Regions from separate parts of the Homo sapiens genome. Here regions 2, 3 and 4 are each linked to region 1. Evidence: promoter capture Hi-C in 16 types of primary human blood cells and fetal thymus (Javierre and others, 2016). All regions are on one chromosome and are shown on one strand. The core of a region is centred on a gene start or on the middle of the fragment in contact, and the rest is flanking DNA. Distances in the headings are between cores, read along the strand shown.

The links. Contacts are between HindIII fragments. The CHiCAGO score rates a contact against its expected background, and 5 or more counts as called.
Region 2: a contact is called between a fragment that was not itself captured here and the fragment with the promoter of PIANP in region 1, in 1 of 17 cell types (non-activated CD4 T cells). The highest score is 5.7, in non-activated CD4 T cells.
Region 3: a fragment that was not itself captured here is called in contact with the fragment with the promoter of PIANP in region 1 in 1 of 17 cell types (naive CD4 T cells); the score reaches 5.3 in naive CD4 T cells.
Region 4: a contact is called between a fragment that was not itself captured here and the fragment with the promoter of PIANP in region 1, in 1 of 17 cell types (monocytes). The highest score is 5.3, in monocytes.

What each region holds. Positions count from the first base shown.
Region 1 is chr12:6,696,447-6,703,739 of GRCh38, reverse strand. It overlaps PIANP (PILR alpha associated neural protein), which reads left to right and starts at 2,925. Exons shown (of 5, transcript NM_001244014.2): 1 at 2,925-3,126; 2 at 5,636-5,695; 3 at 5,948-6,453; 4 at 7,216-7,293. The coding sequence starts at 5,679. RefSeq lists enhancers at 3,644-4,145, 6,849-6,958. The HindIII fragment of the contact is 12,862 bases long and covers 1-7,293 here.
Region 2 is chr12:6,926,896-6,934,188 of GRCh38, reverse strand. ATN1 (atrophin 1) reads right to left here and starts at 6,230. Exons shown (of 10, transcript NM_001940.4): 1 at 5,805-6,230; 2 at 161-349; 3 at 1-13. The coding sequence starts at 187. It overlaps LOC124902868 (a long non-coding RNA gene), which reads left to right and starts at 6,493. Exons shown (of 2, transcript XR_007063194.1): 1 at 6,493-6,662. RefSeq lists silencers at 6,232-6,391, 6,572-6,621. The HindIII fragment of the contact is 1,254 bases long and covers 1,883-3,136 here.
Region 3 is chr12:6,907,077-6,914,369 of GRCh38, reverse strand. LRRC23 (leucine rich repeat containing 23) reads right to left here. Exons shown (of 8, transcript NM_001135217.2): 5 at 6,925-7,055; 6 at 4,344-4,480; 7 at 1,343-1,640; 8 at 141-479. The coding sequence ends at 1,367. Among named protein-coding and RNA genes, the nearest start is that of ENO2, 3.9 kb to the left of the region's middle. RefSeq lists a silencer at 1-7 and enhancers at 118-287, 318-387. The HindIII fragment of the contact is 2,135 bases long and covers 2,677-4,811 here.
Region 4 is chr12:6,517,287-6,524,579 of GRCh38, reverse strand. NCAPD2 (non-SMC condensin I complex subunit D2) reads right to left here. Exons shown (of 32, transcript NM_014865.4): 11 at 7,081-7,215; 12 at 6,897-6,984; 13 at 6,621-6,801; 14 at 3,470-3,594; 15 at 2,543-2,782; 16 at 1,578-1,752; 17 at 1,234-1,318. Among named protein-coding and RNA genes, the nearest start is that of GAPDH-DT, 13 kb to the left of the region's middle. The HindIII fragment of the contact is 7,418 bases long and covers 384-7,293 here.

The DNA.
Region 1 (7,293 bases), core at 1,676-4,175:
GAAGGAGGAGGATCTGAAGGGGTGTGGACATGAGCAAGGGCTCAACCTGAAGCATTTGGCGTAGGGCAGAGATCAGTAGGGGGCAGGCAGCTAGAGAGGAATGGCTGGAGGACAGCAGAGGAGAGAATTAAAAGAGTTCAGAGTGGGCAGGGGTCCCAGAAGAAGTTCATTAAGTGGTACATGTTGAGCATCTACTACATTCCAAGGCACTGCAGTAGGAGTAGGGATACACGGTAAACAAGACAAATAAGATCTTGGCTCTCTAATGTATAGGGGGGCAGGAGAGAGCAGACAGTAAATAGTAAACACATATATGATCATTTCAGAAAGTGATGAGTCGGGCCAGGCGTGGCGGCTCACGCCTGTAATCCCAGCACTTTGGGAGGCCGAGGTGGGAGGATCACCTGAGGTCAGGAGTTCGAGACCAGCCTGGCCAACATGGTGAAACCCCGTCTCCACTAAAATTACAAAAATTAGCCAGGCATGGTGGTGTGCACCTGTAATCCCAGCTATTTGGGAGGCTGAGGCAGGAGAATCGCTTGAACCCAGGAGGCAGAGGTTGCGGTGAGCCAAGATTGCACCATCGCACTCCAGCCTGGGCTGCGAGAGCAAAACTCCATCTCAATAAATAAATAAACAAATAGAAAGTGATGAGTTGGAAAGACAATGAAACATAATGAGGAAACAGAGTGGGGGCCACTTTAGATTTTGAGCAGGGATGAAGGAGCCAACCAGGTGAAGATGGGGAGAGGGGTGGCAAAACATTCCAGGAAGAGGGAATCAAAAGTGGAGGGGCCGGGCGCAGTGGCTCACGCCTGTAATCTCAGAACTTCGTGAGGCCAAGGCTGGTGGATCATTTGAGGTCAGGAGTTCAAGACTAGCCTGGCCAACATGGTGAAACCCTGTCTCTACAAAAAATACAAAAATTAGCAGGGCACTAGTGGGCACTGCCAGAGGGGTGGGAGGGCTGGGAAGGCTGGAAGGGCCCCCCTGCATGCACACGCTAGCTACTTGGGAAGCTGAGGCAGGAGAATTGCTTGACCCTGGGAGGCGGAGGTTGCAGTAAACTGAGATCGTGCCATTGCACTCCAGCCTGGGCAACAGAGAGACACACTGTCTCGAGAAAAAAAAAAAGTGCAGGGATGCTAAGAGAATGACTTCTGATGTTACAGAACAGCAAGTAGTCTGATCCAGCAGGAGCACTGTGTATGAGGTGGGTACAGGCTGGTGGGCTTCTCCTTACAAGGAGTTCAGATTTATTCCAAGTGTAATGAAAAACCACTCGAATATTTTAAGCAGAGAAGAGCATGACATGCTTTTGATTTTTAAAATATTATCAATATAGGAAAAACTAGTTTGTAAAGACAAGGGCAGAAGCAGGGACCAGTGAGGAAGCTATTATGATAATCTGGATGAGACATGATGGCTTAGACCAAGACTATAGCAATAAAGATAGAAGGAGATGAATTCGGGATATATTTTGGACGCAGAGCCCACAGGACTTGTTGGTGAATTAGATACAGGGAGAGAATCAGTGAAAAAAAGGGGAAGGGAGGGATGTTTCCTAGATTTTTAGCCTGAACAACTAGTAGTTGTGAAGCCTCAGGATGGGGATCACTGGGAGAAAAATGGATTGGGGGTGGGGGAATTCAAGACATCTATTTTAGTCAAGTTAGCTTTGCATGGCTATTAGACATCCAAGTGGAGATGTCAAGTAGGCTGTCGGATAAATGAGTCTGGCGCTCTGGATATAAATTTAGGACTCACTGACATTTACATAGTATTTAAGCCCTGGGACCGGATGAGATCACTGGACAGAGAATGTGGAAAGAGAGAATGGCCAAGGACTAAGCCCTAGGAGGCTCCAACATTTAGAGGTCACCCGAGGAAGACTAAGAACAGTCAGTGAGGTTGGAGGGAAATGAGGAGAGTGTGGTGTCCTGGAAGTGCCCTGAGGAAAAACAGCGTAGTGTGGTAGAGAGGGATGGGATCCAGGTGGTGGGAGAAGGGGCAGGAGAGGCTACTTTTGATAGAGACATTAGGGAAGGCCTCCCAGAAGGCGTTGGATCTAAGTGAGACTGGAATGAAAACAGTAAGTCATTGTGAAAAGCCAGGGAAATGTATTACTGAGGGAACAGCAAGTGCAAAGGCCCTGAGGCAGGTTAAACCTGTCTCCAACCAGGAAATCCACCAGGTCCCATGTGGCTGAAGCATAGAAATCTTTAGGAAAGGCAATCAGAGAGCCACCTAAGAGCCAGGTTATATAGGGTCTTGTAAGTCACAGCACGGAGTCTAGGTATTCCAGTGCTGGAAAAGCCCAGGAATTTCGACGTGATCCACTTAATGCATGGTAGCAGGGCCAGAGTGAAATAGGGGATCAAGCTGTGGGGATAATCCAAAGATGGTGCAAGGTCCTTCCTCCCCAGTCCTTTCCTCCACCCCTTGCCCCCAGCCTTGACCTCAGGCACTTTCTACAGCGGGCAAAACCAAGTTGGGGGACAGGCAGTGGTGACTCACGCCTGTAATCCCAGCACTCCGGGAAGCTGAGCGGGAAGGATCGCTTGAGCCCAGGCGTTCGAGACCGGGCTGGGCAACACAGCGAGACCTCATCTCTACAAAACACAATACAAAAGAACAAAGTTGGGAATGCAGAGCATTGAGTGACTCAGAATCTCAGAAACTGACTGAGGCGACCATGGGTGTCCCTGGAGTTGGGGTGAAGGAGGTGGGGAGACTGCCATCAGAACCCAGGGAAGCGGACGGTCGCTGGACCCTGCCAGCCTCTTCAGCCCTCCACCTGGGACATAGCCTGGCTTGACTCCTGCAGCGCGGCAGCAGGAGGGTTAAACCGTGCGTGGCCTCCGGCGCGGGGGGGAGGCGGAGACGGAGACGGAGCGGTCCCAGCCGCCGCGCCGAGCCCAGCCGAGCCGAGCCGAGCCGAGCCGAGGCGAGCATCTCCCACCGCCGCCGCCCCGCGCCCCAGGCGCCCGCCCCCCACCCGCTCCAGCGCCCTGCCGCGGGCCAAACCTCCCCACCATGCCCCGCACCCCGCCCGCTCCTGCGACCCCCCAGCCCCGCTCAGTCCCGAGCGCCCGCAGTCGTCGCGCCGCCGCGCCAAGCATGCAGGTGAGTGAGAGGGACCCCCACGCCCCCACCCGCGGGGAGCCCGGCCCTGCCCTTCCCGGCTCCGCGCCCTGCGCCTCCTGCCCCTCCCGACGCGGTCCCTCGCCCGGGACAAGGCCTCCAGCCTCCCAGCGCCCCTTCCCCGAAGGGCTCTCCATCCCTCCGCGGTCCTGGCTCGCTCCCGCCCTCCCTGGCGCAGCCGTCCCCGTCCCCGCGGCTGCCTCCATCCCGCCTCGGCTCGGCGGGCGGCTCCGCGCAGTCTCCTGCTTCGGGTCCCCAGTCCGCTCTCGGCACTCCCTGCCTCGGGGTCCCTTCGCCGACCTCCTTTTCCTCGTCTCCCCCCACTCTCGCCGCTCTCCAGCCCTGTGCGGGGAGTGCGGGCCTGCGGGATGGGTGGGATGGGGGCCACGCTGGGGCTGGGGCCCGGCTCCCGCACCCCGAGGCTCCTGCCCCACCCCCAGCTCGTCTCCTGCGCACAACAGGTCGGTGAGAAGCTGGGAGAGGGGTGGGGGTGGCGCGCCAGCCCGGGGACTGCGGGCTTCCTGGAGGGGGCGGCTGAAGCTGTGCGGGGCCCAGGGACTGGGTTGGCGCTGGCTGGGGGTGGGGATGCACAGGCGGAGGGGCGATAGTCCTAGAGTCAGCTGGCCACAGATGCGCCCTGGGAGCCCTTCTCCGCTTCACTGGTTCGCTCTACACGCCTCGCTCCCTCCCTCTAGCTTTCTTCCTTTCCCCTCTCTCTCCCTTCTTCCCACCATGCCCCCATCCCTATGTCTTTCGGTATCTCCACATCCCTTTACATTTGGGGGAGCAATTCCGAACTCCTCCATCTTTGCTGCTCCCGCCTCTGCTTCCCAGCCCGTTCCTCGTGTCATTTTTCCTTAAGCATTTATGTTCTCTCCTTCCCCACTTCCTTTCTCCCCATCCTGGGCTTTCCCCCCTTTTCTCCCATCCCCTTACTCTCCACTCCTCTGGCTGTCCTGCCTGGACCGCTCTCTCCTTCTCCTCCTGCCCCTTCTTCCCCTGCACCTGTGACCCCTTCATCCTCTCCGTTTCCCCTCCCTGACCTTTTCTCTCATCCTTTCCTCCCTTCGGCATCCTCCACAGTTCGAGTCTTCTGTACCCACTCTCCTCCTCTCTTCCCAGTTCTCTCTTTTTCAGGACTGCCTGCTCTCTCTCACCCTGCACTCCAGGCCAGCTTCCTCTTCACATTTCTCCTCTCTCACTCTTAACCAGCCTTCCATCTCCCAGCCCTTCACCCCTTCCCATCTCTCCCACTGCCTGCTTCCCCACGCCCTTCCCGTGACTTTCCCATCTTGTTCCCTTGTTGTTCTCTGGGAAGATTCAATGGGCAGATTTATTTATTTTATTTTTTGAGTCGGAGTCTCGCTCTTGTTGCCCAGACTGGAGTGCAATGGTGTGATCTCAGCTCACTGCAACCTCCGCCTCCCAGGTTCAAGGGATTCTTCTGCCTCAGCCCTCTGAATAGCTGGGATTGCAGGCGCCCACCACTACCCCCGGCTAATTTTTGTATTTTTAGTAGACACGGGGTTTCACTATGTTGGCCAAGCTAGTCTCGAACTCCTGATCTCAGGTGATCCACCCGCCTTGGCTTCCCAAAGTGCTAGGATTACAGGCGTGAGCCACTGCGTCTGGCCCATTGGGCAGATTTAGACCCAGAATCCACAGGAAACGGGTATCCTATCTTCACTCCCTCTGGGGAGCCTGCCCCTCCTGGATCCACCACCCTCAGCTCTGAGAACACACCCTTTCTCTTTCAAAACCAACCATCCCGATTTTCCCAGGATTCTTTACCCAGGAGAGCCACATTTGAGGGGGTGGTTTCTTCCTGACTCCACCTCCCTTCAGAGGGCACCTATGCACTTGGATGATTAAACATTAAGAGCAAAAATTATATTCTGTAGTTTTTCTCCCACTCACCTCTCTCTTTCTGTCTCTTTCCTTCCATCCCTCCAGCTCTTCATTCCTTTCTCCTGAAGATGCAGACTCCTGGGGCTAATCATAAGACAAATGCCTGGCACTGCCAGAGGGGTGGGAGGGCTGGGAGGGCTGGAAGGGCCCCCCTGCACGTACACACACTCACTGGCTTGCTCAGATTGACTTCCCCATCCCTCCCCCTACCCTCAGACTCCCTCCCTAGCGGTAGGTGCTCAAGGAATCACAAGGTTCTTGGCTCTAAATTAAGATCCAAGAAAAGCCTGGAGCTGTGGGCAGAGGAAGTGAGAAGAAGGGAAATCAGAGAAGCCAGAGTAGACCCTGGGGTGGAGAGGTAACAGGGACCTGAGAAGTTGTAGATGGGGCTGGAGTCTGGTCAGGCAACCACGCTGGAGTTTTTCCCCCAAAAGGATGCTAACAACCAGTGAATCCTGGGTGCAGCCGCATAGCTGGCAGCTGGGTGGCCTGGGAGGGCAGATGCGGGTAGAATTGGTGGATGAATTAGCTGGGGAAGTACACAGGGCAGGGCTGGGGTGTGACGGCCCCCTTTTTCTCCCAGTAAAGGCTGAAAATCTGGGTCACAGCTGAGGAAGACCTCAGACATGGAGTCCAGGATGTGGTAAGTTTGGCCCAGCAGAGGGAGCCTGGAGACCACATTCCCTGGGGCCATGACTCCTTCCTTCCTAGACCCATCCAGAGCCTTCCCATCCTGAGGGCCATCCTCCTTTGGAAGATGGGAAATGAGGCGAGTCTTCCCAAGGCCCACCTGCTTTCACAGGGAAACCTGGAGGTTTCTGGTGTGAACCTGTCCCTCCCTCACATAGGCCCACAGTAGGCCTGTGTCTCAGCCACGCTCTCTCCCTTCTTGCAGGCCTGCGCTGCTGCTGTCCCACCTCCTCCCTCTCTGGCCACTGCTGTTGCTGCCCCTCCCACCGCCTGCTCAGGGCTCTTCATCCTCCCCTCGAACCCCACCAGCCCCAGCCCGCCCCCCGTGTGCCAGGGGAGGCCCCTCGGCCCCACGTCATGTGTGCGTGTGGGAGCGAGCACCTCCACCAAGCCGATCTCCTCGGGTCCCAAGATCACGTCGGCAAGTCCTGCCTGGCACTGCACCCCCAGCCACCCCATCAGGCTTTGAGGAGGGGCCGCCCTCATCCCAATACCCCTGGGCTATCGTGTGGGGTCCCACCGTGTCTCGAGAGGATGGAGGGGACCCCAACTCTGCCAATCCCGGATTTCTGGACTATGGTTTTGCAGCCCCTCATGGGCTCGCAACCCCACACCCCAACTCAGACTCCATGCGAGGTGATGGAGATGGGCTTATCCTTGGAGAGGCACCTGCCACCCTGCGGCCATTCCTGTTCGGGGGCCGTGGGGAAGGTGAGTGGGAAAGGCTGGGAGGGATATGACGGATGGGGAGGCTGGGTGAAGACACCAAGGGGCAGAAATAGAGGCCTTGTCTGTTAGCTCCTTCAACAAATGTGTCAGGCACTATACTGGCACAGGATGCAGAGATAAAGACACCCTCTCGGAGTTCAGGTCCACTGGAGCAGACAGACATGAAAGGACTTGGAGAGGAGTCATCGTAATAAATGCTTTAATAGAGGCATGTGCAGCATGATTTACAAAAAAAGAGAAGTGAGAGTCTCCTCCTGCTTGGGGATCAGGACACCTTCAGAGAACTGACATTTGAGCTGGCCCTTGAAAAGAGAGTGGGAGTATTCTGGGCAGAGAATGCCATGAATGAAGGGCACTACCCGGGAGATGTCTTGGCTCAGGGAGTGCTGATGGAGGAACAGGGCCTGTGGTTTGGGAGTTGGGCCATGGCAGAGACTAGGACATCTCCACCCCTTAGTTTCCAGGCATAGTGATAGGTTCTCGCTGATCATGGGGCCTCATCCTCATCACATATACACATAAGATTTGGTGAAATACATTTGGGAAAGTGGAGGAAAAGAGCTGAAAACTCAGGGGAATGCTGGTGATAATAAAGAGTGAGGCTCCAGAGGGGCAGACAGAGCCGGCAGTGTGGATCCACACAGCAATGCCACTCCAGCCGACAGAGCCCACAGCCCAGCCCCCAGCCCCTCTTGGCTCCTACCACCTCGGGGCTCCCTAAAACTTTCTTCCCACCCCAATCAGGTGTGGACCCCCAGCTCTATGTCACAATTACCATCTCCATCATCATTGTTCTCGTGGCCACTGGCATCATCTTCAAGT
Region 2 (7,293 bases), core at 1,260-3,759, 230 kb before region 1:
TCCTCATTGACATCTACAGGAGGAGGAAGGAGGTAGGTAACACTGTTCTTTACATTGCACCTAACTTTATGGTGCACATTATTTGTTCTTCTTCTCTAGACCCTTCCTCCTAGCTTGCCTGCCCCGCCCCTCATCTTTCATGTCTCTCATTTTAACTCACCGAGTCTTTATTCTGTCGTGTCTTCATTCTTCAGGCTGTGGAGACCCCATTCTCCTCTGCCTGGGCAGCTGAATACAGAAACTTCTCTGCTCCACCCCAAGTTCCCCACAGCTGTGGTCTGGGAAGCAGGATCTCCAAGTTTCCAGTGTGGGCACCTGGAACTTTTGCAGGATCTGTTTTCAATGAAACCTGTTAGAAGGAAACCATCAGAGTCTCCAACTTGGAGAACAGAGTCACAAAGGAATACTATTCTGCTTGTCAGAGAACTGAGCAAGCGGCCCAACCCTAAGCCTTTGGGCCAAGAGGTACAGATACCACAAGACATTGCTGGCATGCCCCATGGGCTACCTTAGCTATCTAAAAGGGAGGCAGATTCTGCTCGAAGTATAATCTCTTTCATCTCTGTAGAGGGCAGAAAATTCGGATGTACCTACAAGCCCCAATCCAGGAGATCACACAGTTTACCCTTCATGATCCCTAAAGGATATTTGTGAACACACACATTCCACGGAGCCTTACAAAGGAACATAAAGAAATGGAGCGGGGCATGGTGGCTCATGTCTATAATTCCAGCACTTTGGGAGGCCTAGGTGGATGGACCACAAGGTCAGGAGTTCAAGACCAGCCTAGCCAACATGGTGAAACCCAGCCAGGCGTGGTGGCACGTGCCTGTAATCCCAGCTACTCAGGAGGCTGAGGCAAGCAAATCACTTGAACCTGGGAGGCAGAGGTTGCAGTGAGCCGAGATCATGCCACTGCACTCCAGCCTGGGTGACAGAGTAAGACTCTGTCTCAAAAAAAAAAAAAGAAAAAAGAAATGACATTGAAGTATGAATTTATTGAATACCTTCTTTATATCAAGCCCTTCACATACATGATTTCATTTAATATTTACAACCAACCCTGAATGGTAAGCATTATTACCCTCATTATATAGGTGAGGGAACTGAGGCTCAAAGATTGTGATTGTGACTAGCCCAACCTCACACAGTGAGGAACCAGTGACAGAGCCAGAATCAAACCCATGTCGGTGACTTCAAAGCCCATGCTCTTTCTTCTATACTTTGCTGTATTCTCCTCAGAAGTTGCTGGGGAGAATTCTCAGAAGGCCTAGATCAGTCACAGAGATATGAAAAGAATCTTTTCTCACATCAGAGTAGGTAGAAGAAGAATGTCCCATTCTATAATACAAAGGAACACAGCCCTACCAATCCCAAGACTAAACCTAGGTAGCCCCAAATTGTAGAACTTCATTTTTGAGAGCCCCATAAAGGACCCATTCTCTAGTACTTGAGCTCCCTAAGGCTAGAGGAAAAGTCAGGGTTTTCACATGAATGATTAAAGACTCAAAATATCCGTGAGCAAACAACACAGATGTACCAGTTTTTAAGCCTATCCTCCTACTTGGTGTAGACTGGGTTACACAGTTTCTCACAGCCAATCCATCCGTATCTGTCTATCAGCAGGTATCTATCTTTATCCAAATCCCTATAGCCAGCTGTATTCATTTGCACTTGTTTGTATTTCTTGCTAAGTGTCAAGTCCCTCCAAATTACTGATTGTAAGATCTTTTGAGAGCAAAAATGGTATTTTCTTACTGTTTTCTTCCTTTCCACTGATGTGTGTGCGCTCTTCTTGTGATTGACCTTTAAACCCACTAACATCAGTAGGTCTTTCTTCCTGAATTAAGTGCTGCTAGCTCCAGTGGGAACAGACTAAGCTTACCCATGTATTCTATTCTGAGTTGGAGGCCTGCTAGGTAAACGGCATGTCCATATTCTGTAGTGTATTTTTTCCCAAGAAACACAGTAATTCTCACTCACCTCCACGGAACCATACTGATGCAGGCAGTAAGGGGTGAGTCTAACCTTTCCAGGAAACTTCACAATTTACTTAGAATCACAAAATTGCTGGGACAGAGCCTATCTTCTGAACTTTCAACTGATGCTCTGCCCAGTAGACTTGTCTTTTTTTTTTTTTTTTTTTTTTTTTTTGAGACAGAGTTTCACTCTTGTTGCCCAGGCTGGAGTGCAGTGGCGTGATCTCACTCACTGCAACCTCTGCCTCCCAGGTTCAAGCGATTCTCCTGCCTCAGCCTCCTGAATAGCTGGGATTACAGGCATGCACCACCACACCCGGCTAATTTTTTGTATTTTTAGTAGAGACAGGGTTTCACCATGTTAGTCAGGGTGGTCTCGAACTACTGACCTCAGGTGATCTGCCTGCCTCGGCCTTCCCAAGTGCTGGGATTACAGGCGTGAGCCACTGTGCCCGGCCAACTAGTTTTCTTTTTTTTTCCTTTTTTTTTTTTTTGAGATGGATCTTTGCTCTTGTTCCCCAGGCTGGAGGTGCTATGGCATGATCTCAGCTCACTGCCACCTCCGCCTCCCAGGTTCAAGCGATTCTCCTGCCTCAGCCTCCCAAGTAGCTGGGATTACAAGCGCACACCACCACACCTGGCTAATTTTTGTATTTTTAGTAGAGACGGAGTTTCACCATGTTGACCAGGCTGGTCTCGAACTCCTGACCTCAGATGATCCACCTGCCTCAGCCTCCTAAAGTGTTGGGATTACAGGCGTGAGCCACCATGCCCGGCCTTTTTTTTTTTTTTTTTTTTTTCAACTACAGCTATTTTCCCACATTTTTTAGTTGTTATGTAGACTGGTTTTAAAATACTATCAACCAAAAAAAAAAAAAAATCCGAAGAACAACACCCACCATAGCAAAAGAGGAAAACAATCTTAAACAAAAAGCACAACAAAGATGACTATTTGTGATTGGTGTATTTTTGCCAGCCCTCCTAGAGAAGGGTGTCCATCTCCCTTCCCCATCACAGAACCTGTTCACCAAGTCAGTTAGGTTAGGGGATCCAAAAGGTCAGAGAAACACAGGAATGTACCTGAGGAACACAGCAATCATAGTATGCCCTTCTTTTTTAATCACCTGAAATCTGATAAAAACTAGCAATGAGAAGCTTTGAAGGAGAAAAGCAGTCATAAAAGAACAAGTAATCCTGGGGATAAGGAGTGGCAGACGAGGAAAGGAGTTAGGGGTGGATTGTGTGTCTTTCTAGACCTGGGTCATGTTTTAGCACCAGCCTACACTCCTAGCAGGCAATCACTGTAACTAATATTACAGAGCACCTACTCTGTATCTGGCCACATACTAAGCACATTCACCTTCATTACCTTGCTTTATTTTATTTATTTATTTATTTATTTATTTATTGAGACGGAGTCTCACTCTGTCACCCAGGCTGGAGTGCCGTGCCGCGATCTCGGCTCGGCTCACTGCAAGCTCCACCTCCCGGGTTCACGCCATTCTCCTGCCTCAGCCTCCTGAGTAGCTGGGACTACAGGCGCCCGCCACCACGCCCGGCTAATTTTTTTGTATTTTTACTAGAGACGGGGTTTCACCGTGTTAGCCAGGATGGTCTCAATCGCCTGACCTCGTGATCCGCCCGCCTCAGCCTCCCAAAGTGCTGGGATTACAGGCGTGAGCCACTGCGCACTGCCATTACCTTACTTTAAAAAGAAAATGATTAAGACCAGACTGGGTTGGGAGGAAAGTGAGAACTAGAAAAAGAGCCCCTAAGTAAGAACAGGAAAAGAAATTAAGAGAGAAATATGGGATGTCAGAAGGAATACAGTGGAGTCACAAGCTCTCTGGGAGGGGCTCGCAGGCTAAATTTCAGGATCATTGGCCCAGCCCCCAACATCATTCTGGACCTGCCAGACTAACAAACCAGTCCAAAGTGACTCCTAGATAACAATGCAGCCCAGACCAGCAGATAACGATGCACTGGCCTAAGCCTTCTGAGAATCCGGGACCTTCAGAGAGGCCTCAGAGATCATCTCATCTATAGCCCCTTCATCTTAACAATGAAGCCCAGGCTCAAAGAGAAGTGACTTGCCCAAGGTCACAGAGGCACAGCCAGGTCTAGACACAGGTCTCCTGGCTCCTGTTCTATAGTATTTCCCCTGCATGAAGCTGTTTCACAGCCCTCTGTCCTGGGCCACCCTCACCTGGGATGGGCCTGGGAGCCCAGCCATTTCTACAAGGTCAGGGAAGAAGGCCAAAGGTTAGTTGAGGGAAAGAGGAAAAGGGTTACTCAAGAAGGGAGGCTCAAAGAGGAATTCAAGTTTTAGAAAATGAAAGAAAGTGCAAAGAAGCAAAAAGACAACTCTACAAAAAATAACATAATAAGGGAGGTAGAGGTCAGAACCAACTGCCAAAAGATGGTGTAACCTGAACAGAAGCGTTTTCATCCTCCCATCATGCCCAGGTGGAGAGACTTGGAGAAACACCTATGATCTGCAAGGAACGTATCTACCTGTTCCAACAGACTTCAACATGAAAGGGTGCACACCGTGGGGAAACTCCCAACCACCAACAGATCCAGAAACAACCTCCAAAACCCAGCCCAGAGTCCCAAGGACAGCCACAGGCTGAGGTCCAATAAACATTCGAAGCCCCCCCAACCAATCTGACATCCCACTGGATCACTACCATAGCAACACAGTGGCAAAAGGTGCCCCTCAAGAGACCATCCCAGGTGTCCATCTGGCAGCTACCCCCTACCCCAGTTGCCAAAGCAACTCCTACCCTCCTATAGCACCTCAGGTAAGGGAGCTTGAAGGTACCTACCCTAGTCAAAATAAGCCCATGCACAAAGGGAGATCTTTGAGCTCAAAGCAGTAACTAAGGCCTCCCTATATAGATCACAGCTCCAGGGGCAGCGGACGCTCCGGAAATTGGAGGGTGGAGGGTGGAGGTCGCAACTTGCCTGGAGTGCCTGTAAGGTTGCTCAATTCTCCATTTCCATCCTCCCAGAACCCCTTTCTTCCCAACTCCCCCTTCTGTGTTCCTGTTTTCCTCCTCACTAGTTTTGGGATAACCCACACTACTGGGCCCCAGTGCCCTCTCCAAGAAATAACTATGTCTGGGATAGGGAAAACAGGGTCAGAGGTGACCTGCAGTAGGGGAATGAAAACCGTCACAAAGACATGGCCTTCCCTCTTCCACGCTGGAAAACCTCCGGCTCTTCTCAAAAATGGACCTCTCTTTGCCCAAGCCTCCGTCTCCCCCAGGTTCATCAGCCACAATCCCTCTTTCCACCTACCACACCCCTTTCCCGTTTCCCACTTCCCGTCTATTCCTAAAGCCCCCAACCCCAGGCTCCGGAACCCGTGTTCTGGTCCTTTGGAGCTTTTTCCTGGAGGCTTCATGCCCCACCTCGCTGCCATCTCTCCTATCCATTCTGCCTTCGCCCGGAACCCCACTCACAGCATCCCCCGTTTTCCTCCGCCAACCCCGGCCTCGATGTTCCTCCTCTTTTGAGTCTGCGGGTCCCGGATACCCTCTGGCCCCACAGGCCTCCTCCGGAGACCCTCCCTCCTTCCCCACCTTCCCGATCCTCCCGAAACCCTGGCCCCCGACTCTCCTCGGCGGGCCCCACCCCCTGAGCCCCCGGCCCTCAGGCCAGGCAGAGCCCGCAGTGGGGGGACGGGATTGGGAAAATAACAAATGGAGGCGGCGGCGGCAGGAGGGGGAACTGGGAGGGGTGGGGGTGGGGAGCCGCAGGCCGGAGCCCGGGCGGGACAGAACCCCGCGGGCCCGGGGCCCAGGCGGCCGCAGACCTTACCTGCTGGTAGCTCGGGACGGCTGGCTGGCTCCGAGCGGGATTCCGGGCTCCGGCGCCTCTGGGGGGCGGCGGCGGCAGCTCCCCCGCCCCCCTCTCCTCTTCTCGGCCTCAGTCGCCGCCGCGACGACGGCGGCGGCGGCCCCGACCCCCCCGGAGGGCGGCCCCCATCCCCCCTTTTCCCCGCCTGGCCCCAATCGCCCGCCGGCCCCCGGAGCAAACCCCGATCCCCGCTCTGCTCCCCACCTCCCCGGGCTCGCCGCCTCCCCCTGGCCGCCCGGAATGCCCCGGGCCGCGCCGCCCGCCCCCGCCGCGCCGCCCGGCCCCGCGGCCCGCCCGGCCCTCGGCGCGGTTCCGACCCGCCGCCGCCCGCGCCCGCCTAGCGCAGCCCGCACCCGCGCGATCCCGGGCCCCTCGGCCGCCTCGCCCGCGGCCCCCGCCCCTTCCCCGGCAGTCGGCTCCCTCTCCCCCCTCCTAGCCCCTCCCCGAAGCCGCGGTCCCTCCGAAATGGCCCGGCCCGAGGCCCCGACCCGGCGCGGGGCTGCGGACGGGCTGGGCGGTGCGTCCGGCGACTCGCACAGGAAAGCGGACGGCGAAGGGAGGGAGCCTGGGAGAGGGGGATGGGAGAAGGGAGGAAGAGGGAGAAGGAGGGAGCGCGGAGGAACGGAGGAGAGAGGGGCCAGGAGGGAGACGCGAGGGAGGGAGCGCGAGGCAAGCCGCGAGGGGGGAGAGAGGGGGAGCCGGAGAGGGGGAGGCGCAGCGCGAGTTGGCCGAGGCCGAGGCCGAGGGGGCCGGGGCGCGGGGAGGGCTAGCCGTGGCGGAATGTGGGGAGCCCGCGGGCCCGGCGCGGGAGAGGGCTAGGTAGGAGGGGCTGTGGGTGGTGAGGGCAGATGAGGGGAGGCTGAAGTTTGGGGGCGAGCGGGTCTGTGGCAGAGGTGAAGTGGGAGGAGTTTGGGGGATCCTGGGGTAGAGATTGGGATAATGGGATTGGATTGGAAAGATGGAGCTGCCTGGGGGCTTTGTGGGTGCCTGGTGAGAAGTGAGAGAAGCTTGGGGTGAGGGATCTGTGGCAGAGATGGAGCCAGACGGGTTTGGGGGCTATTATCAGAGAGAATGGGATGGAAGTTTGGGGTCATAAGGAGAGAGAAAAATTGAAAAGATGACATATATAGAAAGATGGGGCTTCTGGAAAAAGTAAAGCTTTTGGGGGTGATTAGTGTTGACAAAAGAGTCATAAATATAAGAATTGGGGGTGGGGGGATGAAGGAATGCTGGAGAGAGAGAAGTCCAGAGGAAACGTCAGTGAGGAGAGAGAGGAGGGAACGCGTGAGGAACCTTAAGAAGGGATGAACGAGGTGGGCCCAGGTGCCAATTCTAGGGAAAATAGGTTCTGGGTGAGAAAGGAGGGCTCTGGATGGGAAAGAAGGGTGGGAGACACCGGGCTGGCTGGATCCTGGGGGTGGGGGCTCCCAGTAGAGCCGAGGAGGGTTTA
Region 3 (7,293 bases), core at 2,495-4,994, 210 kb before region 1:
ACAAGCGCTCATACCCACGGCCCGACCCACTCGACAGTAACAGGCAGAGCCGCACCCCTGTAGCCCGGGTACGAAGGCCCACACTGCCAGTGAAGCCCAAGACAGCCTCAATGTCTCACAAACCCGGTCAGACACAGGAGCATCACTCTGTTTCTTTATTGGAAATCCGAACACCCCAGCCGCCTTCGCAAGTCTCTCCAACCACTCCTACCAGCACCCCGCGGCCCACGCGGTCTTGGCTCTCACCCACGCCTGCCCGAGGGCGGCCCCCGGCCTAGGCTCCAGGCAACGCTCAGGCCTAGGCACCCCATTCTGCACCCCACACTGCCCAGAGGACCGGCACAGAGCAGATCCTGGGCCTCAGGTTGTGATGAATTTCCAGCTTTGGGGCAAAAACAGGCATCCTCTGTTCTCTGTCATACATGTGGTGGCTGCCCCTGGGAGTCTGATCAGGTCTGAAGGCCAGCGTCTTTGATCTCCTGGAGGTAGAAGACAGAAGTAAATAGGGACCAGGCGCTGTGGCTCACCCCTGTAATCCCAGCACTTTGGAAGGCGGAGGCGGGCAGATCACGAGGTCAGGAGATCCAGACCATCCTGGCTAACGTGGTGAAACCCCGTTTCTACTAAAAATACAAAAATTAGCCAGGCGCGGTTGCATGCGCCTGTAGTCCCAGCTACTCGGGAGGCTGAGGCAGGAGAATTGCTTGAACCCAGGAGGTGGAAGTTGCAGTGAGCTGAGATTGTGCCACTGCACTCCAGCCTGGAGACTAAGCAAGACTACCTCGCAAAAAAAAAAAAAAAAAAAAAAAAAAAACAAACAGAGGTAAATAAAGCCTCTCCCCTATCTAAAGTGCCTGGCGGCCACCCTCATCTCTTCAGTCTCTTTTTGCCTCACTCTGCCCTCTTTTCTTCCCCCATCTCTGTGTCCTGTTTTTAGCTTCAGATTTTTTGTGCTGGATCTTCCTCTCCTGCTTCTCTCCTAGGTCCAGCTGCATACACCACCAACTTTCCCCTGCAGCCCCTACCATGCACCCACACCTGTCCTTTCCTAGCCGACTTCACTCTGTGTCAGGTATGGCTGCCCCACCCCCCACCAACTCCTCTGCCTGCCACCCCAATTCTTTTCACTTACTCTTCTGGCCTCCTAAGTCTTTCTCAGCTGGTCCCAGGCCCCTTGGGTCCCTTTTCCTCTCCCTGACTCCTAACCCTCCTCTCTTTAAGGGTCCTGCTTGTCTGATGCTTTCCTCTCCCACCTCCTTCTGCAGCAGCTTCCCCTCTTGCCTCTTCCCCTACCTGCCCAGCCCTTGGCCTCCTCCCACTGCCTCCCTGCAGGCTTCCTTACTATCTTTAGAGGCTAGAACTGCTGCTAGATCAATGACTGTTCGGGTTCCAGGTCACGCTGGGGCTCAGGCTCCTGCTCCTTTTCTTCCTTCAGCCTCTGTCGAATCACATCAGCCTCAGCCCGTTCCTCCTCCTCATAGAATTCCTTGTCCAGGCGTTCAAGGTATGGCATCTGCACCAGGGCCTCCTGGCGGTAGCTGGTTTCGTCCGTGCATGGGTTATCAAGCAGCACCAACGCTCGCAGCTTGGGCAGGTCTCGAAGCTTGGCCAGCTCCCCCAGGTTGGCCACCATGTTGCCCCTGCCAGTGTGGTCAGGAGGGGTTCATGCAGGAATAATGGGCTTTGGTTGCCAGTTGCTAGGAATGGGGCCTCTGGGGGACTCTCGGGGTTCCAGTGTCCCTAGAAACACTGTGAGGACTGGCCTGCCAAGCCTTGCCAGATTTACTGCAGAGGTGCTGTGTGACCCCGCTCTGGTCCTGCTTCTGCCCTTCAAGGAATCCCTAAGTGCCATATTCTACTCTGTAATACATTCATGTGTTCTTTTGGTGCAGCAAAGCTAGGCCACAACCCTGTCTTGTAGCTGGGGAGGAGAGGGCAAATTTTCCTCACAGGGAGAGACATTTTCTGTGATCACACCTAAATGGAGGGTAGAAGGTAGGACCCAGCCTGGGCAACATAGCGAGACCCCATCTGTACAAAAGCTAAAAATAAAAAAATTAGCTGGGCGTGATGGCATACACCTGTAGTCCTTGCTACTTAGCTGAGGAGGAGGGATTGCTTGACCCCAGGAGTTTGAGATTACAGTGAGCCGAGATCGAGCCACTGCACTCCACCCTGTAGGACCTAGGTCAGTGGACAAGGAACTGGGATCTAAGCTGGAGTTTAGGGTGGTGGATGCTCGGTTCGTGCTCTCCACAAAGAGAACCTAAGGCTATGGATGGGTTGGAGCCTCCCAACCTGAAGAATAAACTTCATCTCCTAATGTGCCTCATTATATGATACTCTGTTTTTATTTTATTTTTATTGAGACAGGGTCTCACTATGTCACCCCGGTTGGGGGTGCAGTGGCATGATCATAGCTCACTGCAGCCTTGAATTCCTGGGCTCAAGTGATCCTCTCACCTTAGCTTCCTAAGTACCTCCAGGCATGTGCCACCACACCTGGCTAATGTTTAAATTTTTTGTAGAGACTGGGTCTCACTATGTTGCCCAGGTTTGTCTTGAACGCCTGGCCTCAAGCAGTCCTCTTGCCTTGGCCCCCCCAAAGTGCTGGGATTACAGGCGTGAGCCACCATGCCTGGAATTTTATTTATTTTCATGTTCTGGCTTTAAGCTTTTATGAAATCTATTTAAGTGTTTCAGCCTGATCTCATGGTCGTGCTGAGCCTCATGCAGTGTTTCTCACCAGGAGGGCTACAGGAACTTTGTACTGGACTCTGCCATACATTGTTGGATGCTTAGCATCTCTGGCCCCAGAGGCACCTGCCAATCATTGAGACACCCTCACCCCCCTCCACACACACACCCGACTTACTCTCAAAACATCCCCATTTAATAGCCACTCAGGAAGGGTCCATCATGCCTGTCTAGATCATTAACAGGAAGATGGCACAGATACACACCCCACCAGATCCGTGTGGCAGAGTTCATGAATAAGAGAATGCCCAGGGGGTCAGGATGAGAGTTGGGGCTTCCAGATGCAACCACCTCTCCCTACTTGGAGATGCTCTTTCCATTACCAGCTCAAGAATCTGGTCTTGTTGACTAAGGAAAGAGGCAGTTTCCTTACATGTTTGCTGAAATAAACACACATAAAGTCCTCCATCCGACAAGAGTTGCTGATCTTCAGTGCCTTTCTACCAAAAGATTTTCTTACAAATGTCCTTCTCTCCTCAAATCTGAGCACATCTTGTGTTTTTTTAATCAGTAAAAAGGTCATCCCTTACAGGTGGGGCTCAGGAGAAGAGAGGCAGGAAATGGGAAGGTGAATTGGGACCGAGGAAATGGAGAAGGGCAGTGGAAACTTATATAGGATAGGGTGAGGAAAAAAGAGTTGGAGCCAGACTGTGAGCCCCTTAGGAACAGGAATCACCTCTGATTCCTTTCTTTCTTTTAGAGACAGCTCACTCTGTCACCCAGGCTGGAGTGCAGTGGCACAATCATGGCTCACTGCAACCTTGAACTCCTGGGCTCAAGTGATCCTCCAACCTCAGCCTCCTGAGTAGCTGAAACCACAGGTGTGCACCACCAGGCTCAGTTAATTTTTATTTTTAATTTAATATTTTAATTTTTATTTAATATTTTATTTTTGTTTTGTTTTTGAGGCAGGGTCTGGCTCTGTCACCCAGGCTGGAGTGCAGCGGCTTTATCTCAGCTCACTGCAAACTCCACCTCGAGGCTCCAGCGATCCTCCCGCCTAAGTCTCCTGAGTAGCTGGGATTACAGGTGCCTGTCACCATGCCTGGCTAATTTTTGTATTTTTGGTAGAGATGGGATTTTGCCATGTTGCCCAGACTGGTCTTGAACTCCTAGGCTCCAACGATCTGCCCACTTCGGCTTCCCAAAGTGCTAGAACTACAGGTGTGAGCCACCATGCCGGGCCATTATTTTCACTTCTGTAGAAACATGGTCTCACTAGGTTGCCCAGGCTGGTCCTGAACTCCTGGCCTCAAGTGATCCTTCCTCCTAAAGTGCTGGGAGTACAGGCATGAACCACCATGCCCAGCCTCTGATTGCTTTAAATGTCCCCAAAACACAGCACAAGGCCTGGCACATAGCACATTCTCAATAATTGTGGATTGAATGAATAAAAATTCAGGGGTCACAAGCTATAAGGGATTTAGTGTTGCAACTCAGTGCAGAAGAAAGGAAGGAAAGCCGGGCTTTCCTTGAGAATCCAGCTGTGGGCTAGGACTGGGGGATTGGGCCAGGGAAGAACACAGACTCAAAAGCTGCACCTGGTCAGGGGTAGGGGCAAGGTGGGGCTTGGAGAGGGTGCATACCTCAGGTTGAGGTACTGCAATGATTTCATTTCTCTGGAGAAGCCACTCAGGGTGTCAATCTGGTTGTCTCGAAGATGCAAGGTGGTGAGATTGCTCAGATCCTCCAAGCCTTCCACCTTCTTCAGCATGTTTTGGGCCTAGACCCCCAGGGCACAGTGGATTGATTGAGAGGGAGCAGGGATAGGGAAGAAAGAGAAGTCAGAATGAGATAAAGCAAAAGAGGAAATCCAAGAGGTAGAGAGGGAGGAGTGGAAGAAAGGAGTGGGGGTGAGTAGAGATCAGTATAGAAAGTAAAGAAGTTCAGGAGAAGCTGCCATCCCAGAGAAAGGTCAGCAGTAACCCTCTACCATTCGCCCCATCAAAGCCACTTGGGATGGAGGAGATGCTTCAACCCACCCCTACCCGGCCCAGGAGCCCCCAGGCCACCACTGAGGATTGGCATCAGCACCATCCCAGAATAACGAAGCTTAAGAGTCTAAAAGACTAAATATTTCAGTGGCTTCCTGTGGAGTTATTATATATATAATATATAATATATTATATAATATATAAAATATATATTATATATTATATATTATATACTATTATATATAATATTTATATATTATATATAATATACTATTATATATAATATTTATATATTATATAAAATATATTATATATAATATACTATTATATATATTTATATATTATATATATTATATATAATATATACTATTATATATATTTATGTATTATATATAATTATATATAATATATTATATATAATTATATATAATATATAATTATATATTATATCTAATTATATATATTATATATAATTATATATTATATATAATATATAATTATATATTATATATTTTATATATAATATATAATATATAATATATAATTATATATTATATATTATATGTAATTATATATTATATATAATATATAATTATATAATATATAATATATATTTATATATAATATATAATTATATAATATATAATATATATATCGGTTTTCATCCACAGTCCCTAGCTTATAACCCCCATAATAGCCCTTCTTGCAGTCTTTTGTTATAAAGTTGGGTGTGCTGGGCCTCAGGGGCAGGTCTCAGGAACTTCTCCAGCCGTCTTTTCACCTGCTCCAAGAGAAAGCGCTAATCTTTCCCCCCACTCCCTCTTTCTGACTGTGATTCTTTCTTTTTTTTTTTTTGAAACAGAGTCTAGCTCTGTTGCCCAGGCTGGAGTGCAGTGGCGCAATCTCGGCTCACTGCAAGCCCCGCCTCCTGGGTTCACGCCATTCTCCTGCCTCAGCCTCCCGAGTAGCTGGGACTACAGGTGCCTGCCACCACACGCAGCTAATTTTTTTTTTTTGTATTTTTAGTAGAGACGGGGTTTCACCGTGTTTTTCTTTGGTTTTTTTTTTTTTTTTTTTTTTTTGAGATGGAGTCTTGCTCTGTCTCCCAGGCTGGATTGCAGTGGCGTGATCTCAGCTCACTGCAAACTCTGCCTTCTGGGTTCAAGCCATTCTGCTGCCTCAGCCTCCCTAGTAGCTGGGATTACAGGCGCATGTCAGCACACTGGGCTAATTTTTGTATTTTTAGTAGAGACAGAGTTTCGCCATGTTGGCCAGGCTGGTTTCGAACTCCGGACCTCAGGTGATCCGCCCGCCTCAGCCTCCCAAAGTGCTGGGATTACAGACATGAGCCACCGCGCCCGGCCTGATTGTGGTTCTTAAGACCCTCCCCAGCGACAGCCTCCCCAGTTTCCTGGGGGAAGGAATACTAAGATCATGAAGCTTCCATGAAAAGCCAAGAGGACTGGGTCCAGAGAGCTTCTGGGTAGCTGAACACGTGAAAGCTTTTGGAGGGTGATGCATCTGGGAAGGGCATGGAGCACTGCACCCATATCCCCATACTTCGCCCTAAGCATCTCTTCATCTGTATCCTTTGCCCTTGCAATAAACTAATAAAAACCACTCTAGAAAATTAATTAAATCCAGAGAAGAGGTCATGGGAACCAGCTTCATGTTGAAGCTGGTGTGTCAGAAGTTCTGGAGGCTTGGACTTGCAACTGGTGTATGTGGGCGGTGTAGGGGTCACTCTTGGGAACCGAGCCCTCAATCTGTGGGATTTGATGCCATCCCCAGGTAGACAGTGAATCGAATTAGAGATCACCCAGCTGGTGTCTACTACTTGGTGTATGGGGAGAAACCCCCACACCTTTGGTCCCGGAAGTCGTATGTTGATGATTGTTGTGGTGGTAGTGTAAGAGCTGAAGAAAAACCCAGTCTGAGAGGAGGGTTTTCCTAAAACATTTCCACAGACTGATGTTTGTACCTCAATTATGGTCCATTTTGCTACTACCTGTATCAAGGTAAATTATCTCTGTATTATCCACACATTATATATTATCAGCCCTGCTAGGTGGCTGTGTATCTCCACAGCATCTGGAACCAACTATGGTCTTGATAATAATACCAGTTATTATCATAATGATGAAGTTAGTAGCTGAGCCTACTAGAAAGCAGGCATCCTGACCCCCAGGACAGTGCCCTCTTCCCTGCACCACCCTCTGACCCAGTGAGCTACCAGGTAGAGGTTCTTCAGCTTAGGAAGATTGATTCCCAGGGTGCTTTCCAGCTGGTTCCCCCGAAGCTCCACTGTGTGCAGGCTGATCAACTTCTCGGGGTCCAGACCTGTCACCATGTGGATGCTGTTCCCTGGGGAGGAGGGTTTCAAGAGCTCAAAGGGCCACTCCAAATGCTCAGCATTAGAGCCTGAATTTGGGGAGCCTCTAAATCATCCTACCATTCGCAAAGCAGGGTAGATACTGAGGAAGGCCAGCTCCAGACTTAATACCTCTGGAGCCCTGAGGCAAGTGGTGTGGTAGGTAGTCCAAGGTCCTGATGGACATATCCACCTAAGCCTTTGAAGAGTGAATGAAGCAGCTGACATGTC
Region 4 (7,293 bases), core at 2,843-5,342, 180 kb after region 1:
CCTCCTGGGTTCAAGCAACTGTCCTGCCTCAGCCTCCCAAGTAGCTGGGACTACAGGTGCCCACCACCACACCTGGCTAATTTTTTTGTATTTTTAGTAAAGGTGGGGTTTCGCCATGTTGACCAGGCTGGTCTCGAACTCCTGACCTCAGACCTCAGGTAATCTGCTGCCTTGGCCTCCCAAAGTGCTGGGATTACAGACGTGAGCCATCGCGCCTGGTCTTTTCCAGATAATTTGAACCAGAACACAGTCTTCTTTGTTCTACAATGTGAACTGTGCTCTTTCTTGGGTTCTGTTTGAAATGCCCTCCCTCCTTGCTCTGATTCTCTAAATCCTACTCATCTTTCAAGACCCAGCTTAAGTCCTACCACCTTCAGGAAGCTTCCTTGACCATTCTACCCCAAACCGCTCTCTTTCCTACTCTGTATCCCTCAGTAGAACACAGAAGTTAAGAGTATGTTTTCTAGAGCTCTTATTGCCTGAGTTTGAATCTCAAACTTTGCCACTAACTAGCTGTAACCAGCCAAGTTCAGTAACTTCTCTGTGCCTCAGATTTCTCATTGTAAAATGCAGATAATGCTACCTCACAGGGCTGTCGTGAGGATTAAACAAGTTACTGTGAGTAACGTGTGAGTGCCTGTCATATATTCAATACCATATAAGTGAGGTTGTTATTATTGCTATGACAACCATTACCCGTACAACTCATTCTGGCACTTTATTATCTACCTGCTGCATTGTTCTAAAAATGTTCTGTGGTTTTTCACTACCAACTAGACTGTTGGTTCCTTTAAAGTTGGGAACATGAAAGCAAATAGTCTTATACTTCTTTCTGGAGCTAAGTAAATTGCTAAATACATAGTAATAACTCAATAATACTTGTTGCCGGGCGCTTTGGCTCACGCCTGTAATCCCAGCACTCTGGGAGGTTGAGGCGGGTGGATCACGAGGTCAAGGGTTCGAGACCAGCTCGGCCAACATGGTGAAACCCCGTCTCTACTAAAGATACAAAAAACTAGTCGGGCATGGTGGCACATGCATGTAATTCCAGTTACTCGGGAGGCTGAGGCAGGAGAATTGCTTGAACCTGGGAGGCGGAGGTTGCAGTGAGCCAAGATTGTGCCATTGCACTCCAGCCTGGGCAATGGGGCATGACTCCGTCTCAAAAAAAAAAAAAAAAACAACCAAAATACTTGTTGAATGAATAAAGAAAGAGAAAGCAGGAAGCCTTACAATTTCCTCAAGACACTGAATGGTCCCAACCGAGGCATCCACTAGCAGCAGAGAGAGATTCTGAATCAAAGCCTGGGCCTTGGCTCTGTGGGAACAGCAGAGATCAGCGGTCACTATAAGATTGGGAAGCTGAACTTGGCAAACAGTGATTAGGGCTATCCCACCACAGTGCTACAAAACTGCTCTCCCTGGAAACCGAGCCCCACCCTAAGCCCCACTATGATGGACTGCCTATGGATCTGGAACTCCCCTGGAGAAATGCACCTCTTCCTTTAGGAGACAAGGGAAGTCCTGTGAGAAGCTGACCTTGGAAAAGTCAGCAAAGGCAAAAGCACCCCATATACCTGGCAGAGTCCCCTTTGGGGTTGAGGTAGAGTTGGCGGTAGGCATTAAGCACGGCTTCCCGGACACCAGGCTCCTTAGACCAGATGAGAGGCAGCATACGGCGCACCCCAAACAGGGCCTGGGGTACCCCAAATTGGAAGACCATCACAAAGAATTCAATCACCTCCTGCACCACTGAGAGAACATGTACAAATGTCACCTATCTACTTCACAAAACTCCCCCAATACCTAACGACAGAACCTTTCTGAATGTAGCAAGATGCAAATGGAGGCCTTCCGCATTTTCCCTGAGAATGTCGACTCCTCCTATGATGCCTTATCATGAAATACTATATGCATTAAAATGTATAAGCTGTAAGTGGCTAGAGGAAGCAAACAGAAAAAAAGAACCCCTGCCTTTTTTTTTTCTTTTCTTAAGACACAGGTTCTTATTCTGTTGCTCCGGCTAGAGTGCAGTGGCATGACCACAGCTCACTGTAGCCTCAAACTCCCGGGCTCAAGCAATCCTCCTGCCCAGCCTTCCGAGTAGCTGGAACTACAGGTGCGTGCCATCACGCCCAGTTAGTTTTTGTTTCTTTGTAGAGATGGGGTCTTGCTATGTTGCCCAGGCTGCTCTCGAACTCCTGGCCTCAACCTGTCTTCCTGCTTTGGCCTCCCAGTTTTGTAGGGATTACAGGCATGAGCCATCGCGCCCAGCCGAGAACCCCTGCCTTTTAAAGGAGCAGATAGATATATCAATAAAATATGGAAAAGAACTCCAAGATCCATGGCCGGGTGCAGTGGCTCACACCTGTAATACCAGCACTTTGGGAGGCTGACGCAGAAGAATTGCCTGAGCCCAGGAGTTGGAGACCAGCCTGAGCAACAAAGGAAGGCCCCATCTCTATTGTTAATAAAAATTTAAAAAATTAAAAAATCCAAAAGAACCCCAAGGCTGTCCTTATAGAAAGGGACTCTGGCATACCTGTAGTTGTGTTTTCATACATCATCTTGCTGATGATGCCAATGGCCTCTGTAATCTTCCGGGAGAAGCTGTAGGCATCCTGCAGATACTGTACCAGCATCTCCTGCTTCACTAGTTCATCATTTCCCCTGGATTCCTCAGGATCCGACATATTGGGTTTATTTTTACAGACAGTCTGTCCTGTGACCATGTTTCCTGTAGACTCCCGGGGATTCTTTTCTTGTGTGGAAGCTGCTGGGCCTAAGGAGTTAGAGAAGTACAGGATGGTTTCGTTCAAGGGGATACAGGGGAATCCAACAGCTGTCAACATTCCTGGATATTTACTTATTTATTTTCCTTCTTCTTTTCTTTTGAGATGGGGTCTCACTCTGTTGCCTAGGCTGTGCAGTGGCAATGATCACCGCTCACTGCAGCCTCAACTTCCCCGGGCTAAGGTGATTCTCTCACTTCAGCTCCTGAGCAGTTGGGACTACAGGTGCGTGCCACCGCACCTGGCTAATTTTTTTTTGGTATCCCTTGTAGAGATGGGGGTTTCGTCATGTTGCTCAGGCTGATTTTCAACTCCTGGGCTCAAGCAATCCTCCTGCCTTGGCCTCCCAAAGTGTTAGGATTACAGGCATAAGCCACGACATCTGGCCCTGGATATCTCTTTTCACAATGTGAAGATATGAAATTAAAACTTACTCTAAAATATCTAAATTTCTCAAAAACCATACCTAAAGACCGCTATGGTCTGGACAGTCACCCTGTGACTATCAATCTTAGGCCCGTGGGCTGCTTCCATTCCAGAGCAAAAGTAATGCCAATTCATCTCTGGGCTCTTCAGCACCAGGTTCTGTTAACCAGGCCAATGATGGCATAAAGTTAATGCTCAGTAAATACCAGTTGACATGTGTTATTTATTGACTGAAGAAGGAAAATGATTACCTTTGAAGATAAGTCCTAAGATATTCAAGAGCCTGGTCTCCTCTGACTCCTCTGGGTCTATATGACTGAAGGGTTCGGACTCCTGGAAGTGGCCTGTGGCTTCTCGAGTGAGAATGATGGCCTTTCTGAAAGAACACCAGCCTGTCAGTACCCAGAAGAATGTCACTGCAGCCGTTTGTAAGGGAGCTTACCTCATGATTCTATCAAGTCCCTGGACCTACTGCCCAGAGAAAAGGAGCACTTAACATGCTTAAAAAGTTGTTACAGCACCTACTAAGGGGTAGGGCTCAAAACACTTTGCCTATTTTTTTCCCCTGACTGCTCATCTGCAAACACTTTTCCTATTTCTGAACCTACAAGGCATTACTACAGTCTTCAAAAAAACTCCAATAAGGCTTTTTAAAGTTTTAAAATCATAAACCTACTCCAAACACCTGTTTAAAAACTTTCCTAAGTTTAGAAACAATAAACTTTCAATAATTAGTTAATTCAGGCACATCCAGACAATAAGATTCTATGTAGTCATAAAAAATAATGGGGACACGTGAGCCCAGGAATTTGAGATCAGTCTGGGCAACACAGGGAGACCCAACTATACAAAAAGTAAAAAAAGTTAGCCGGGTGTGATGGTGTGTGCCTGTGGGTGTGATGGTGTATGCCTGTGGGTGTGATGGTGTGTGCCTGTGGGTGTGATGGTGTGTGCCTGTGGGTGTAATGGTGTGTGCCTGTGGTCTCAGCTACTCGAGGGAGCTGAGGTGGGAGGATCACTTGAGCCTGGGAGATCAAAGCTGCAGTGAGTTGTGATCATACCACTGTACTCCAGCATGGGCAAAAGAGTGAGACACTCTCTCTCTCAAAAAAAGAGGAGAGTGGGAAACTATTTATGTATAAATATATATGTGTATATATATATATATATTTTTTTTTTTAGAGACAGAGTCTTGTTCTGTCACCCAGGCTGAAGTGTAGTGGCATGATCTTGGCTCACTATAACCTCTGCTTCCTAGGTTTGAGTGATTCTCATGCCTCAGCTCCCCAAATAGCTAGGATTACAGGTACGTGCCACCATACCTGGCCAATTTTTGTAATTTTAGCAGAGATGGGTTTCGCCATTTCGCCACGTTGGCCAGGCTGGCCTCAAACTCCTGGCCTCAAGAGATCCACCAGCTTTGGGCTCCCAAGGTGCTGGGATTACAGGTGTGAGCCACTGCACCTGGCCATCTATAAATTTTTTTTTTTTTTTGAGATGGACTCTTCCTCTGTCACCCAGGGTAGAGTGTAGCGGAGCAATCTCAGCTCACTGCAACCTCTGCTTCCTGGGTTCAAGCAATTCTCCTGCCTCAGCCTCCCAAGTAGCTGGGATTACAGGCATGAGCCATTGCACCCAGCCATAAATATTTTTAAAAACCACTGAGACACATAGTTAAGTGAAAAAAACAAGATGGTAGATCAGTGGGCAGAGAATTCTATCAGTCATATAAAAGGGGGAAAAAAAGAATACATGTTTGACTGCTTGTCTACATGTTATCTTCTTGCCACGTTGCCCAGGCTGGCAAAGGCCAGGCCTGGTGGTGTGTACCTGTAATCCCAGCTACAAATTATAAATAAATTAACCAGGCTACTCAGGAGGCTAATGTGGGAGATCGCTTGAGCCCAGCAGGGTTGAGGCTACAGTGAGAGGCTGCAGTGAGCTGTGATTGCGCTACTGTACTCCAGCCTGGGCAACAGTGAGATTCTGTCTCAAAAACAAACAATCCTTTTCTAATTGACAGGAGAAAATACTAGAATGCTTGGTGGAACATGCACTTATAAAACTATAGTCTCTATTTTTGCTTTAGCAAAATAAAAAGAGAGACACTAAAGTAACATAAGGGAGTCATAGGGCAAACAAGCCACTCTCTAGCCTTCTAAAAACAGCCCAAGCCGGGCACGGTGGCTCAAGCCTGTAATCCCAGCACTTTGGGAGGCCGAGGCAGGCGGATCACGAGGTCAGGAGATTGAGACCATCCTGGCTAACACGGTGAAACCCCGTCTCTACTAAAAATATAAAAAAAAAAATTAGCCGGGCGTGGTGGCGGGCGCCTGTAGTCCCAGCTACTCGGGAGGCTGAGGCAGGAGAATGGCGTGAACCCAGGAGGTGGAGGTTGCAGTGAGCCAAGATCGCACCACTGCACTCCAGCCTGGGCAACAGAGCAAGACTCCGTCTCCAAAAAAAAAATTCAGCCCAATTAGGTAAGAAGTAAATAAATAACAAATAACTTGTGGCTGAGGTTTAAGAATACTTGTTGGCAGCCGAGTGCGGTGGCTCACGCCTGTAATCATGGCACTTTGGGAGGCTGAGATGGGTGGATCACCTGAGGTCAGGAGTTCAAGACCAGCCTGGCCAATATGGTGAAACCCTGTCTCTACTAAAAATAAAAAAATTAGTGCGGTGTGGTGGTGCGCGCCTGTGGTCCCAGCTACTTGGGAGGCTGAGGCACGAGAATTGCTTGAACCTGGGAGGCAGAGGTTGCAGTGAGCCAAGATCGTGTCACTGTACTGCAGCCTGGGCAACAGAGTGAGTGAGACTCCATCTCAAAAAAAAAAAAAAAAAAAAAAAAAAAAAACTTGTTGACGGCTGTAAGGGCTTTTGTTGTTAAGTTCTAGAGTCACAAAAACACTAGGAGAAATCTTTTCTCTAAGATCAGGATTCATACTAGGTTTGAAGATTAAGGTAGTATTAAGCATGTTTGATATTATTAGTTCATGAAATTTAGAATTAGAAAGTCCTTAGAGATCATAAGATCTAATCAATTTCTTATTTTATAGATAATGAAACCGAGGCACAGAAAGTTAAGCAACTTATTCAAGATCATACAACTAGAACTTATTTATAGGTGCTCTTCTTCAATTGAAGGAGGACTCATGTTTGATTATAATACTGTTAACATTTAATTGTTTCAGTAGTTTTTTTAAACATTTATAAAGTAGAAACACATGCTTAATTGTGGACTAGGCCTATGGTCAGACCATTACTACATGAAAACATCTACCATCACCTGGTGGCAGCATATCTGTGTGCAGTTAATTTAAAAGACACATTATGTAAGTTTCTCAAAGGTTAACTCTAAACATAAACAGATCACGAAGAATATCCCATTCTTTTGCCTACTTGTAACTAGCTTTGGCAAGCAGTTGATAGATGCGTCCTTTCACATCTTCAGTTGTCTCTGTATTGGCAATTTGCTCAGGAATCTCCTCCTCTCCCTGGGGAAGCTGTAGAAGCTGCTGCAGGGTAGACTTCAACTCTGGCAGCATGGCTTCCCACTCCTCCTCTGGGTCCAGCACTGCAGCTAAATGAGAGTGTCACTTAGTCTCTTTCACTAGAGTTTCTGACTGCAAGGAGAAGCCTGTCTGGCATTAGGACTCCAAGGCAGTAACTACTTACAAGCTGCTGCAGTTCGCCTCTGGGCCCTCATCTCTTGTAATTTCTGGGTCTCCTTCTGCAGTGGTCCGGCAAGGTCAGCATCACTAAGCTATCAGGTAAAATGAATAGCAGGGTCAGTAAATGACATAATTTCATCCCTGTTTCCATTTAATTCCTTCTCTTTTGGTGGACCAAGTCTACTTACCTTGCAGGAGAAAGGATTATTGGCTAGAAAACTGGCCAGCAGCTGGATGGCATTTTTACATACTAGCACTGACTTGTCTGCCAGACGTCCCACAGCTAAAGCCACCACTGCCTGGAAACGTGTCAGGGGGAGAGCCTGTGTAGGGTAGGAAGAGAAGAATCTGCTCAAGTCCCACATCATCCATTTTGTTCAAGATGATCTTTAAGTATACTC